Regions from separate parts of the Homo sapiens genome. Here region 2 is linked to region 1. The links are contacts of gene promoters, found by promoter capture Hi-C in human tissues and cell types (Jung and others, 2019). All regions are on one chromosome and are shown on one strand. Each heading gives the region's core, a stretch centred on a gene start or on the middle of the fragment in contact. The rest is flanking DNA. Distances are from core to core; before and after follow the strand shown. Region 1 holds the start of CRYGS (crystallin gamma S). Region 2 overlaps DGKG (diacylglycerol kinase gamma).

What was found. The method cuts DNA at HindIII sites, captures the fragments that hold promoters and counts their contacts. A contact is called where the count stands out against the background at its distance.
Region 2: a fragment that was not itself captured here is called in contact with the fragment with the promoter of CRYGS in region 1 in 1 of the 25 tissues and cell types used here (aorta).

What each region holds. Positions count from the first base shown.
Region 1 is chr3:186,540,234-186,546,669 of GRCh38, forward strand. CRYGS (crystallin gamma S) reads right to left here and starts at 4,147. Exons shown (of 3, transcript NM_017541.4): 1 at 4,073-4,147. The coding sequence starts at 4,093. It overlaps TBCCD1 (TBCC domain containing 1), which reads right to left. Exons shown (of 8, transcript NM_018138.5): 8 at 5,834-6,436. The HindIII fragment of the contact is 9,271 bases long and covers 2,716-6,436 here.
Region 2 is chr3:186,218,246-186,225,698 of GRCh38, forward strand. The region is part of intron 20 of DGKG (diacylglycerol kinase gamma); the gene reads right to left. Among named protein-coding and RNA genes, the nearest start is that of ETV5, 110 kb to the left of the region's middle. RefSeq lists enhancers at 2,413-2,482, 3,241-4,154 and a silencer at 7,416-7,453. The HindIII fragment of the contact is 6,739 bases long and covers 1-6,309 here.

The DNA.
Region 1 (6,436 bases), core at 2,897-5,396:
ACGCTTATCAAGTTTCTACCACAATGCCTGGGGTAAGTCTCTGATGGCACTGAAAAATATGCAGCCCTGTGAAAGCAGAAACAGTAAGTCTGGACTACAGAGCTCCCTCTCTACAATTAGCCTTACTATCTTCATCCAGCCACCTCTCTGAGCTTCAGCTTCCTATTTGAAGACTACAGCAGACTGGAAGTTCTGGCTTTAAAACAACTCTCAGAGCTTTTCTGGCTGAAACAGGAGACAGAGTTCCTAGGAACTCCCAAGGATTCACCAAGCAGTTCCTGAAAACCACGATGAAAACTACAAATGAGCTACAGAGCTTGTCCCTTGTTATTCAATAATTCCACAATCTTTTCATCTTTTTTTTTTTTAAGATGGAATTTCAGATCAATGCTAGGTTATAAACTGAAACCACAGGTGTCATGCTTCGAACCGTTAATTACCTGGCATTATGCCGCCACCTTGTGGCTGATTTACTTTATGGATTTCACGGGCGAAAACTATGTGAGTCATTTCAGATGAAAGGAGCAGAGCCGGATACTGTCTTGAGAGGATCTTTGAGCTGAGCATTGAAGGATAAGTAGGTGTTTTCCAGAGGCAAATGAAAAGGAACAAACATGTTTAAAAGAATAAAGTGAAAGAACATGGCCCATTATAGGGACAATAAGTAGTTCATTAAGTCCAGTACATATTGAATATGTGGTGAAGTACTAGAAAATAAAGCCAGAAAAATGACACCAGAATCATGCTGGAATCCCTTTGGTGATTATGAGTGAGTTGGACTTAGTAGTGTGTGCCTAGAAACGGATGGCTGCTGTGGGCCAGGTGAGAGATGATGAGGGCCAACCAAAAGGCAACTCCAATGTGAATGATGATGAGAAAACAGTAAAGAACTTCAGGATTTGGTGACTAATTAGATGGAGGGAATGAGAGGAAGAAACGAAGAATGACTCATAAAAAGCTATAAAATCTCATTCTCCTCTATCCTGGGTAGTTCTTTCTATCTAGATACTAATATACTAATAATTGTTTCCCTCCACCTTAATCTTTCCCTTCCCTTCCCATTTATCTCAATTATTCTCTTTCCTGTTCCCTAAAAGGGTCCCTTTTCCTTCCCACCCCTAAATCATCTACTTCCTCTCCTTTATCCCCTGCCCAAATTTCTTTATGTGTTTCAGTTCCCTTCCCATCTTAGCACAGTACAGATTTAGATATATGGTACCTCAGTTTACGGATGAAGAAAAAAAAGAAAAGTCTCAATACTACTGCTTTCTTGCTACGTGACCTTGGACAGGGCAATGAACCTTTCTCTACAGCTCTTCATTGGCAAAACAGGATGATAGTGTCTCTTGCAGACGGTATGCTCTGAGGGTCCAAGGGGATGTTGATAAAGTACTTAGTTGAATAGCTGACTCATGATTAGCAATAAGCTTTTGCTACAGTTTTTACAGATGAAGAAGTTAAGTGATTGGCCTAATGTCACTACCTAGTTACAAGTTAGTTGCAGACAAGCTGGTGGGCTGCAGTGCAAAACTCCTGGTGAGTAAACTATTGTTCACTTTATTTTCCTTTGCTGTCTTTCTGCCTGCCCAGTTAGCTTCGTTTAACATGGCAGCACTTACTCTCTTGGACAATGACCAAGGCTGGGCCTAAGCCTCAGGGGCTCTTCCTCATGACCTGTGGAGAGATCTTTAGGAAAGTCAAATAACTTCTCTAAGAATGGATAGATTCTAAACTCCTTAATTCATATGTTCTATTTGCCTTTGGTTTTTGACCAAACAAGTCACTAAAAAGAGCCTTTGCAAAAGATATCCTATGGGAAATGAAGTTAATAATACCATCTATTTCACTTCATAGTTTCTCACATTTACTGCCTTCTGCACATTTGCGTGACTAATTATCAATATCTGCTAAGTAAAAAGATACATGATGCCTGATACGGTCACCTGATGTCCACCCTCCCAGGAGACCAGCCAACCATCCAAAAGTTGAAACAAAGCCCTCATCCTGTTGCTATGGAATCATTACTGAGCTCCAAGACTAAGCTCTCCTTTCAGTGGGAGACCTTCTATATCTCAGAGCCAGAGAATGTTGCACCTAGCTGTGCTCAATTTCTTTTTGTAGAATAACCATGAAATCCATGCTATTGTCAGCCTAGAGGTTTTGACCTTTGGGCAAAATATTTTGTAGAGAAGGCTAAAGAAATGTGCAGAAAGTTTTCCTAGAAATTATTACAAAATTCCTATCATTATCAGGTTTATTTTTGGAAAAATGGCCTACTAATCCAATGCAGCAGAGAGAAAAATATCTTGAGTATCCCAGAAGTAATGAAAACATACTTAGTAAAATCTATTCCTTTTGCCAAGCCCATAACTCCTCTGATTAAACTGCTATCAAGATAGTGGGAAAGGAAGAAGCAATGAGAAAAAGTAAGAAATAATTTACTATCTCCTTTACCCTAGCAAGCAAAAGTTATTTAACTAAATGAACGACTCATCTATAAATAAAAAAGAGTACACTATTACTACTCTGCAAATCTTTAAAAGCAGATGTTTTCATCTAAGATGGTTGTAGAACAGCTTTACCTCAAGATACATGGATATCCCTCCTCTAAGGACCAAAAATTCTTTTTTAGTGGGATTTGCATGGTATATTTTCAAGAACCTCAGAGCACTGAAGACACTAATTTTTCTCCCCAAACCTCCTGAATGACAAGCATGATTATTAGTTCTATTTTCCAATGAAAAAAAAATCAAGCACTAATAAATTACAGAACAAGTTAACAGGTACCTTCTGACCTGATGCAACAGGAAGTACACAACATTGCCTATGTAGCTTTCTTGCCAAATATATTTATTCTGAATCTAAACATGAGGAAACAATTAGACAAATCTAGATTGCAAGACTTTCTAAAAGACATCTAACCTAGGCTTTGAAAAATGTCTCAAGAACAACAACAAAAAGGGTAGAGGGACATTTTTAGAGAGGCTAAAAAAAACTAAAGAGAATAAAGAGACATGACAACCAATTACAATACATGTTTTTCACTGGATCCTGTATTAGGGGAAAAGTCCACCATGAAGCACTTTTCTGGGGACAATCAGGGGAGATTTGAATATGGTCTCAATATTAGCTATTATATTTATGATAACTCTTGGGGACATGCTAGTGATACAGTGTTTATACAGGGAAATGCCCTTGTTTTTAGGAGATACATGCCTAAATACTTAAGGCAAAAGTATAATAAAATCTGCTACTAATTTTCAAATGGTTTAATAAAGAGAGATGGAAATAGGAGAGACCAAATATGGCAAAATGTCAACAACTGGAGAATATAAGTGAAAGATATACAAATATTCATTCAACATTTCTTTGCCATTCTTTGAGGATTCAATGGGTTTGAAAATTTTCAAATAGCTGGGGGTAAAAATCAGGCAGCAGTTTTGTCTCATCAGTGGAAGCGCAAAAAAGAAAATGAAAGCATATTCCCTCATTCCCAAAGCCCTACCTGAAAGAATAATTTCCAATCCAGTAATTGTGAGTTAAATATTTTAGAGGCAATTTTCTGACTGTAAGGGAGCACTTTATTTGAGGAACGAGTAAAAATAATTGCTTGAATGGAAGAGAGATGTAGGACTTTATTCACCTGATTGGCCCATCCACTTTGGCCTTTTAGAACACAAATGGTTGAGGCTAAATTTCAGAAAACAAAATTTTAATTGATTATTAAAAGTTTTCTGCTCAATATAATCCCCATTAGCATGCCTTATTCCTATGGAGAATATCAGTTGCATAGAATATTAGTTGCTAGAAGGCAGAAATAATAATGATATTTATAAATTACCTGTATAGTATTTAACATAGCACCATACATAAAGATAAACCCTTAATAAAGTGTTCGGTAATTCTGTTAAGGGTGGAAAATATAATAAGCATTTCTTAATCTTCTCTCTCAATCCCAGTTCTCTAACCACTATCATACTCACCTCTAGGCAAAGAAGCAAAAGCTTTTCTGTGTGTTGAATGCATCATTAGGTGAAAAGCGGGTAGGCTAAAAATCAATATGACTACTTACCTTGGTTCCAGTTTTAGACATTTTTGGTGCATAGACTGGTTTTCCCAGTGCTGAAAGAAATTCAGGAATGGCTACAGAGAGTTAGAGGCACAGTGACATTTATATGGGCTGGTTTCAGTCAAACATTTGCTTAGTCATGAGAATAGGATCCAAAAATTGAGTCAGTCATTTAGACGCTATTGATGGTTTCTAGAAAAAACAACTGGGATTATAAAATAAAGGAAAGCTTCAGTACCGCCTTTAATGCTTACCAAGCAGGGCTGCATTACAGACTTTGCTGAGTCAAGAAACCAAAACCCAGACAAAGTTGTAAAAATTAAGAACAAAAGAGTCTCTCTTTTTTTTTTTAAGCAGCCTCTTTGAAATTCCTAATGTCCTTTTTCTTCAACAAAGCTTGTGAGAGGTAAGAGTCAGAAGACTACCTCTATTTCTGGACAGAAGTGACATGTTCTAAACGCAACAAAACTTACATGACAACTAAATGCAATGCATGATCTTGTGTTTGGGGAAAAAAGTCACTATAAAGACACTGCTGGGACAATCAGAAAACATTTTAATATGGACTGTAAATTAGATAATACTATTGTACCAAAGTTTAACTTCTTGAATTTGATCATTGTACTATGACTAGGTAAGAGTATGTCTGTTTCCAGGACATGTATGCTACCATTTAGAAGAAAGGTTCAAGATGTCTGCAACCTATTCTCAAATTGTTGAGCAAAAATAAAACAATACTATCATGTTGAGTGGTAAAGAGAATGTAGCAAAATGTTAACAACTGGTGAATGGAATCTAGATAAAGGGTATGTTAAAGTTCACTGACTTATTCTTGCAACTATTATTTAATTTTTTTCAAAACACAATTTTTTTTAAAAAAAGAGCTCTAATCCATAAGAAGGGTGCCACCGTATGTAGAAAAGTGACTGTGGGACTCCTGAATTTGCCAAGGGTTAGCTAACTAAACACAACAAGCTACTGGCTAGGTGGTCTTCTTTGCCCACAATACAACATTGGAACATGATCGGAGAACATTTTTTGGCCCTAATACACCTCTGACTTTAGGAATGAGATTGCATCTTATGTAAATACAAAAAAACCCAATAAATTAACTTTTCTCCATTTTTAACTTTAACTGATCAAGTATATTCTCAAAATCAAGTATATTCTCAAAAGTCAAACTTCCTCATCTTTCTGTTAACAAAACTAACAAATATTTTAATAAATGGGATGTATTATGGTCAATTCAGAAAATGGCAAATGTGCCTTAATATAAAGATTATTGAGAAAATATTAAGCTATATGCTTGGTTTTCTGAATTTTATAAAATTTTATAAAACTTTAAAACTTTAAAAAAAGTATCTGAGTACCATTTATTTCATTAACAAATAGCAATATCTAAAATATATTTCTATTACTCCAGTGTTTATTTGGTAATGGTCTGCTCCTTGAATTTCATCTTAAAATAAAAACCATGTAAACTTCAATTAGAATTAAACATTCTGAGGGTTAATTTTTACTTTAGAAATACAAAAGAGTTTTTTGATAGAAATACTAATTAAATGGCCAGAGAGCATATGAACCAATGTTTATCAGCAATCTGATTCATTTCACTCATTTGGTAATTTGGTAATTTCACTCATTTATCTGAAAGAAGGTTTTCCCAAGTAAATGTAAACTTTACTAGTTATTTTGAGAAATGACACTGGAAACCTTTTCTAAAATTAAAACTAAAGATTTATCTTTTACAAAAAAAGGAAATTATTCTTTAGAGTTTGTTTATTGAAAATTTGAAGCAGGAAGTGAAAAATAAAGATTTTTTTAAACAATTTCATTAAGTTCCATACTTTAAGGACTAAAATATAGTATAAAACTATTTCTATGTCTATATACCAACAAATCATACTTCCTTTCCAATTATTTTTTAAAAGGAGTAGCAATTTCCTTTTAAATAGTTACAAAGAACTATAAAACTCTTATTTAACTCTAGAAAGAATAAAACTCTTTCATCACACAAATGAAGATACACACTATAGTTGCAAATCTACACTCAGTTGCTTTAATATTAACATACATACAATGGTACTACCTTCACCAACTTTTTCATTTGGGCATCACAAAGACGAGTCTTCTGATGTTCTATAAGCAATATGTTTATATGAAAGTCAGAAGTTTAGCGAAAATTCGGCCTAAACAGTAATAAATGAAAATGGAATGGAAATCAAAGTTCTTAAATAGAACAGAAGGCTGGGCACGGTGGCTCACGCCTGTAATCCCAGCACTTTGGGAGGCCGAGATGGGCGGATCACGAGGTCAGGAAATCGAGACCATCCTGACTAACACGGTGAAACCCCGTCTCTACTAAAA
Region 2 (7,453 bases), core at 1,690-4,189, 320 kb before region 1:
TGTAATCCCAGCACTTTGGGAGGCTGAGGCGGGTGGATCATGAGGTCAGGAGATCGAGACCATCCTGGCTAACATGGTGAAACCCTGTCTCTACTAAAAATACAAAAAATTAGCTGGGCGTGGTGGTGCATGACTGTAATCCCAGCTACTCGGGAAGCTGAGGCAGGAGAATCTCTTGAACCAGGGAGTTGGAGGTTGCAATGAGCCGAGATCGCGCCACTGCACTCCAGCCTGGCGACAGAGCGAGACTCCGTCTGAAAAAAAAAAAAAAAAAAAAAAAATGAAAGACTCGGACCAACTGCTTTCCAAGGTTTCTCCAAGCTCCCCAGACAACTTGAGATGACACAATTCAGAACAGGATGGGAGGACTCACGTGTTCTACAACTGCTGCTGTGTAGGAGTGTGGGCCCAAGTATTGTCAGAACTGACATTTTTGAAAGAGAATCCAGAAATATATTTTCATGTAAAATCTCCTGATTATTGGAATTGGCAACTAATTCAAGTTTTTAAGAACCTAAGCCAAAAAACTACACATTTGGGAAAACTGTAGCTAGCCAACAGGACATTTCTGTATATGAATTATAAATTTTCATCAGGTTCATCTCAATTAAAATATAAAACAAATGATCTCAATCCCATTTGGGATTTGCTGGGTTATTAGCGGTGTTATTGCTACCACTACTGAAGATAATAGACTAGCATTGGATTACTAAGGTAAATAATAATTTAGCAAATCAGGTATAACAGAAATGCAGAACGGCCAAATGCAACAAGAGTTGAATTATAATTGATAAATATTAGTAATAATATTGACAGTACTTTACCTGTTAACATTTTACATTACTTGAATCTCAAATACCTTTGGAAGCTTAGTGATTATGTTAACCGAAGTTTACATCAAGAGTTAAAAAAAAAAAAAAAAAAAAGAAAAGCAAAGGCAGGTGGGGTCTGCTCTGAGGCCAGGATGTCAAGTCCTATAAGGGGCCCCTGACTGTTACCTCACAGGTGCTGCAGAGGCCATCTGTGTCACCCGCACACCCAGCTGCCTTGGCCCATCAGAGAGTGTGTCACCACATCTAATCCACGCTGCATGCTGTCCCCAGCTCTCACTGCTCATCAGAACAGGCACGCAGTGATCCTCAGGCACCGAGCTGTGCATGGAATCATCTTTTCCAAGAGGGGGCAGTGGCCCCTTTGGTTCAAGGGAAAGTGAACACCCAAAAATCAGGAAGGAGGCTTTATAAATAGCTGTTTTTGTACTCTGAATGTGACTCTTGTGCCTGCTGTTCCTGCCAACAGATTTGTGTTGGCTCGATGTGTTTCAGCTTCAAGGCGCGAGGTATTCCCTGGCTTGTTTCCATACTTGGGACAAGACTGGTGTTCATGGCACTCAGAAAAATCTAGGGTGGTGAATGATGGGAAGACTGGAGGCCAGAGACCAGGAAGAGTGGGCAGAAAGATGGAGAACAGGAAAGGGGAGATCTCAAGAAGGGGCTCAGAAAAAAAAAGGCTGAGGAAGGAGGGAGAAACTTGAGTAGGATGTATTTTATTGTATAACTATGGAATCCTCTTAATAACCTCTGAAGACACTTCTTGAGTCATTTCCATGTGTGAGAAATTAACTGTAAAATCACAGATGACATACTGTTTGCAACTAAGAGGTCTTCAGGGTTCAGGGACTTATTATAGCCAGGGGATCACAGGTTCCAAAGAGTTCTTCCAAAGTGTAAATGGAGTCCAGGAGCTGCTGTCAATATGTCTTAATGTAAAATAGTATTTGTGCATTTAATCATAATAAAGACAGCATAGGCTAACTAGTGGGTTAAACTATAATTTTTTTGATGTGCAATGGAATTAAATCAGTTATATCAGTTACTGCTTGGTAACCAGAGACACGGATTGAATGGCAATTGAATCCTGAATAATCAAAATGGGGAAACAAATGATTACTTAGAAGAGCTTTATGGCTGAAAAAAGTCTTACTCAATATGGCACCCATGGTGGGAGGCAGTGGGAGAATGAATAAAAATAGTGCACTATTCCATAGTAAAAGGGTACATGTAAAATTACTACTCTATACCAGGGCTCCATGGTGGTTCTCTTCTAAGCCATGGCAGCCTTCTCACGGTACAGCTTAGGAAACCGAGATCAGTTCTTGGTGATGCAGCTGGGAGGTATGGAGCTGGAATACAAACCCCGTCTTCCAGCCCATACTCCTTACTGGTTTACTCTCCCTGGCTCCTGTTGCTATGCCCCAGAGGCACCTGAGAGAAATGGAAAAGTCAACCGAAGTCACCAGAGCTAGTGACTGCAAAGCTGTGAGTCATTCTCATTCATGCCTGTGAGCTGGGTTTACTCACATCTACCACATGCGCCACCGGTATGGCTGTAGGATCCCAGCTTGAGGTTGGCTGGGACCCTGACACTCTTTAGCAGAGTCCATGATCTGGGCCTCCCCATTGGTCTCCAGTCTCCACTCTTGTCCCAGAGTAACAAAGGGCCAAACCCATAAGCCTCATATTTAGAGCAGCCTCTGTACCCCTTCAAGGGTAATTCTGGGCCCCTAAGAATCTACTGCCTCTGAACAGTGACCCTTCTCTTCCATATAAGACAGTGTGTTTCTGCGGACCAAGGACACATTCTCCATTGATAGGATCTCCGAATTCTGTCTGGCACCTGACAGTATCTCCTCCTAAGGGCAGGACTCCAAGCACGAAGATTGCCAAAGTCTGAAATCGGATCCTTTCCCAGTGCAGCACACAAGGACACACGTGTGCACGTGCGGGCACACACACAGGCCGCAACAAGAAGGCTTCCCTGAGACTCATGATCCACTGTTACCAAATGTGCTCGCAGACACTGCCCCTCTGAGGCCAGAGAGTCTCTCCAAAGGCCCAGCAGCCTGACTGGAGAATGGCCACTGTGCTGTGAAAGGCACCACTTTGGGGGTGGCCCTCAGGGGAGAATGCTGAGGGGCAGGCAAGGCCAGGACCATGTTGTCAGGGTTTTCCTTTCCTGATGGCCTGGGTCTCCAGGGTGTTTTTCCAGTTAGTATCTGTCCTTGCCAAGAGAAAATAGCTCCTTTCCCTCATCCAAAAAGAAAAAAGAAAGAAAGAAAAAACCCTCACAGTTTGGCTGCTTCTTAGCAATCCTTTCTCCCTTTGAAGAGTTATTCGTGGAAAGAAAATCCCCTTCAGGCTGATTTGGCGGAGGGTGGAGGGCATGGAATAAGCTTGCTCTTGGCAGTTAACGGAGAGCAAAGTCAAATACTGGGACAAAAAGAAATCCCTGCCTGGAGGGACGGGGAAAAGGCGGACAGGAATGCTCACTCCTGAGGTTCTGTAGTGATTCCTTAGCTGTGCTTTCCAGCATTTACACATCCATCAGCCCTGGGAACTGGTATCTGAAGGCGGTGGGGACAGTGAAGATACAGGTGGGTGAGGCCTCGTGTTAGAAACTGAGCCTTGAAGGCTTAGAGAAGGTGGCTGTCCTGCTGGAGCTGAGCCTCTCGCTGTGGAAGGTGACTTCCTGGGTCCTGATCAACCAAGACTAAAAGGTGGAACTGTCTGGAGGAGCAGAGGCAAACCCTGGAAGCAGGTCCACACCCTCACACTACCGTGACCGCCGGGTGGGTCCTGAGGGAGCCAGCTGAGCTCTGCCGGCCCCCAGCTGTTGAGAGGAATCTCACTTCCCACTTCATAAATGTTGACCGTGGGTCTGACCTGCACTGGCTGCTTTATGCACCCAAGGGTCGCGCTCTTTTGATCCTCACGTCTACCCCCTGCGGTAGGTACTATGGTGGCTATTTGTAGACGTGTGAGATGGTTGTTCCTTGGCAAACCTACAGCTAGACTGGAACGGGATCACAGAGTCTGAGGGGATGCAGGCTGGCTGATCCTGTTCTCCCCTCTCGCTCCCCAGCCAGTCTTTCTGAACACGAGGCAGTGCCTGCTTTATGATAGGTCGGGTTACAAAAGTTCCTTGGTTAAGCCAGTTGTTTGTCACTCTGAGCACATTTCCCCATAGAAACAATGTGATGTTGAGGTTGGGTTCCCAGGCTAACCCACAAGAGCCAATTAACCCATTAGGTACCCAAACTACAATGTCTCGTTTTAGAGAGAGCTTACTGGAGCTGAAGGAGTTCTGGTGGGAAGGCAGAAAGGCCTGGGTTCAAGCCACAGTTCAGTCACTTACCTGCCATGTGACCTTGGGCAAATCATTTAGTCTGTCTCTTAGTTTCTCTATTTTTGAATTGACACAATATGACCTACCTTGCAGGGGTTGCTGGCAATATTAATTAAGAATACACACACATGGTCGGGTGCGGTGGCTCACGCCTGTAATCCCAGCACTTTGGGAGACTGAGGCGGGCGGATCACTTGAGGTCAGGAGTTTGAGACCAGCCTGGCCAACATGGTGACACCCTGTCTCTACTAAAAATACAAAAATTAGGCCAGGCGCAGTGGGTCACGCCTGTAAACCCAGCAATTTGGGAGGCTGAGGCGGGCGGATCATGAGGTCTGGGAGTTCAAGACCAGCCTGGCCAATACGGTGACACCCCATCTCTACTAAAAATACAAAAATTAGCCAGGCGTGGTGGCGGGTGCATGTATTCTGAGCTGCTTGGGAGGCTGAGGCAGGAGAATTGCTTGAACCTGGGAGGCAGAGGTGGCCACTGCACTCCAGCCTGGGCGACAGAGTGAGACTCTGTCTCAGGAAAACAAACAAACAAACAAACAAAAGAATACACACACGTGTATGTATACTATATATATATATATATATATATGTCTCATGATATACACTCCAATAAAGGCACAGTAGAACTCCATTGTTGTATATAAAACTGGCTTCGTGGCCTCATGATTCTGAGTTCCAACTTAAAGTACAGGGAGCACATCTTTTCCGCTGAATTGGGATTGGGGATCTTTGCTTTCCTCAACTTCCTGGGAAAGAAACCTGGAGACTCCTCTACCCTACATCCCCGGCGGTGACCCTGAAGTCTGGGCTGGAGTTCTACTTAGGAGGGGAATGGAGACGCCAGAGGGAGAGTGAGAAGCAGCAGAAGTGGAAAGGGTAGCAGAGAGCACACACTGAAGTATGCATCCTGTGTCTTCCTTTTGCAATCCTAAAACTCTAGGATGGTCTGGTTATTTCTGCCTATGTTTCCTGTGCCTTCCCCACCATCGGCTGGTTAGAGGCATCTTGTCTAGAATTAAGTCCACGGTAAGTCGCTCCCTCCTTGTTTCCCTTACCTTTCCCATCATGAAATTGTTAGCAAGGCAAGTCAAAAATGCACTCGATAGGGCAGATGCCTGGATAAATACCCCCCTTCTCTTCCCTATTCCATCTTCTTCCTGTGCCAGTTTAAAAAATCTTAAATAGGAAAGCATGAGCCAGAGCCTCGCTCTGCCTGAGAAGACTGCGGTAGACCCTGCCAGCAAAATCCTTTCTATTTCATCCTTTTGAAAATCTCATCCATATGCTCTCTACTTTGCTTCCACTCTGACGTTTGTGACTTCTTATTCTTGTGTATACATCCCTGCCACCCATTTCAGAGACTGCAATTTATGTGAACTTGTCATCCTCACCTGGCCTGGTGGTGCAGCTGTGTGTCCTGCCCCACCATGTCTCTGACTGCAATCTCTAAGGTCGTGCTCCTCTCCCCTAAGGAATACGAATCATTCAGTTTGCCCCTCTCACTGTGTGGTTGGCAAACTTGTCCCAGCTGTAGGTGTGGCCCCAGTGGTCCTCCCAGCCAGTTCCTTGGGAGAGCTGCTTGGCACCACCTTAGCCACGCCTCTTATTTGTAGCTTGCACCTGCTGCCCTTCTGTGGGCTGTGATTTTAGAGTTTAATTTGAACACTCTACTTTATCCTACTTAAATCTCATTTTAAAGCTCTTCTGTTTGGTCCTCAAGTATCTGGCCAAAAATATTCCGCTTGGTTTATGTGATAAGCTCCCAATTCCTTGCCAGGGTCCTCTTATTCCAGCATCAAAATCCATGGTCCAGAAGAACAGTCGTTCTCAGATCAGCTACAGAGCAGCTCTGTGTTCCCCATATGTGCCTGTTTCTTCTAAAATTATGACTCACGGCTGAGGAAGAGACTAAAGCATTGCCTTTGCCCATGTCCCTTAGCTTGCTACCCAAGACATCAAAGGTCACTAGAGATACTAACCAGGATTCCTCCAAATGTGTCATTTGCCACCATGCCCGCAGGCAGACAGGAGAAAGAGTCTGTAAGTTATATGAGTATGTGCACTCGAATGCAGGGGCTTTCACCAATGAATTCGGTAAAATATTGGTCTCAAGAGGCTCTGGGGTAAGGGGATTCTGTGGTCAGGTAAATTTGGGAATGAAATACTTTCTCTTGCTTTTGCATGATCTCAGCAGGTTAGAATCTACATTAAAAGCTCTACAATATCAAACAGAAAAGAATTATGTTTGACTCAATTTTCCAAGTGTATTCAATGATTGACACCCCCCCGCCCCCCAATCTTCTTGTGAATTTCTTTTTAACATCCTGTGGAAGGCATTTTAACCAATGCTACATACTTTAATACATGCTGGAAGAAGACAATCTGGGTAGCTACCTCTGCAGGCTCATGAGGAGTTGAACCTCATGGTAAGTCTGTTAGCTGCTGTGTCTCCCTTCTCCAGAAGGTCCAAATTTATTCTCCTTGTGCAGAGACTATACTTTTAATTTTTTCTCCAAACAGGAATTGGGAATTTCCTCTTTATTTCCATATCTATTTATTAATCAGAGTGACTTCTCTTTATGTTCTCTTTGTCCCCCTGAGTCCCTTTTCTTTCTGAATCATTTCTTTCTTTTTTTTTTTAATGTATTTTATTTACTTATTTTTTTTGAGACAGGGTCTCACTCCATTGCCCAGGCTGGAGTGCAAGTGGTACGATTATATTAATAGTTCCCTGTAGCTCCAAAATCCTGGGCTGAAACAATTCTCCCCTCTCAGCTTCGCAAAGTGTAGGGATTACAGGCATGAGCCATTGCGCCTGGCCCTGAATCATTTTTTTTAATGACATCTAGGAACCCTTTGTCAATGCTTTAAAATTCTCCTCAAGCCCATTCATTCTCTCCTTTGGCAGGAGATCAGTTCACATTTATAGCACCAATAATTTGTGACCAAGGTCAAGCAAGAAAAATAAATAATTGGCCCCCATCACAACCCTAAGGTTATATTTCCTGGACATCAACGTGACAAGTTGGAGGGCCAAGGCTCTTATGGGGCCTGGCAATGTGTTTATTTGGCTTGCATGGTGGTGTTTAAAATTGGAAAATTTTACATACACACCTGAAGCCCAGCTTCTCTTGAGAAATCAGATCTGTTAATACTGGATTGCTTTCCAACCTGGCAATGATCGACGGCCACTGAGAACTGGCTGCTCCCTTTACACAGCACTCAGGCTAGAGTTCTCACCACTCCCTAAAGC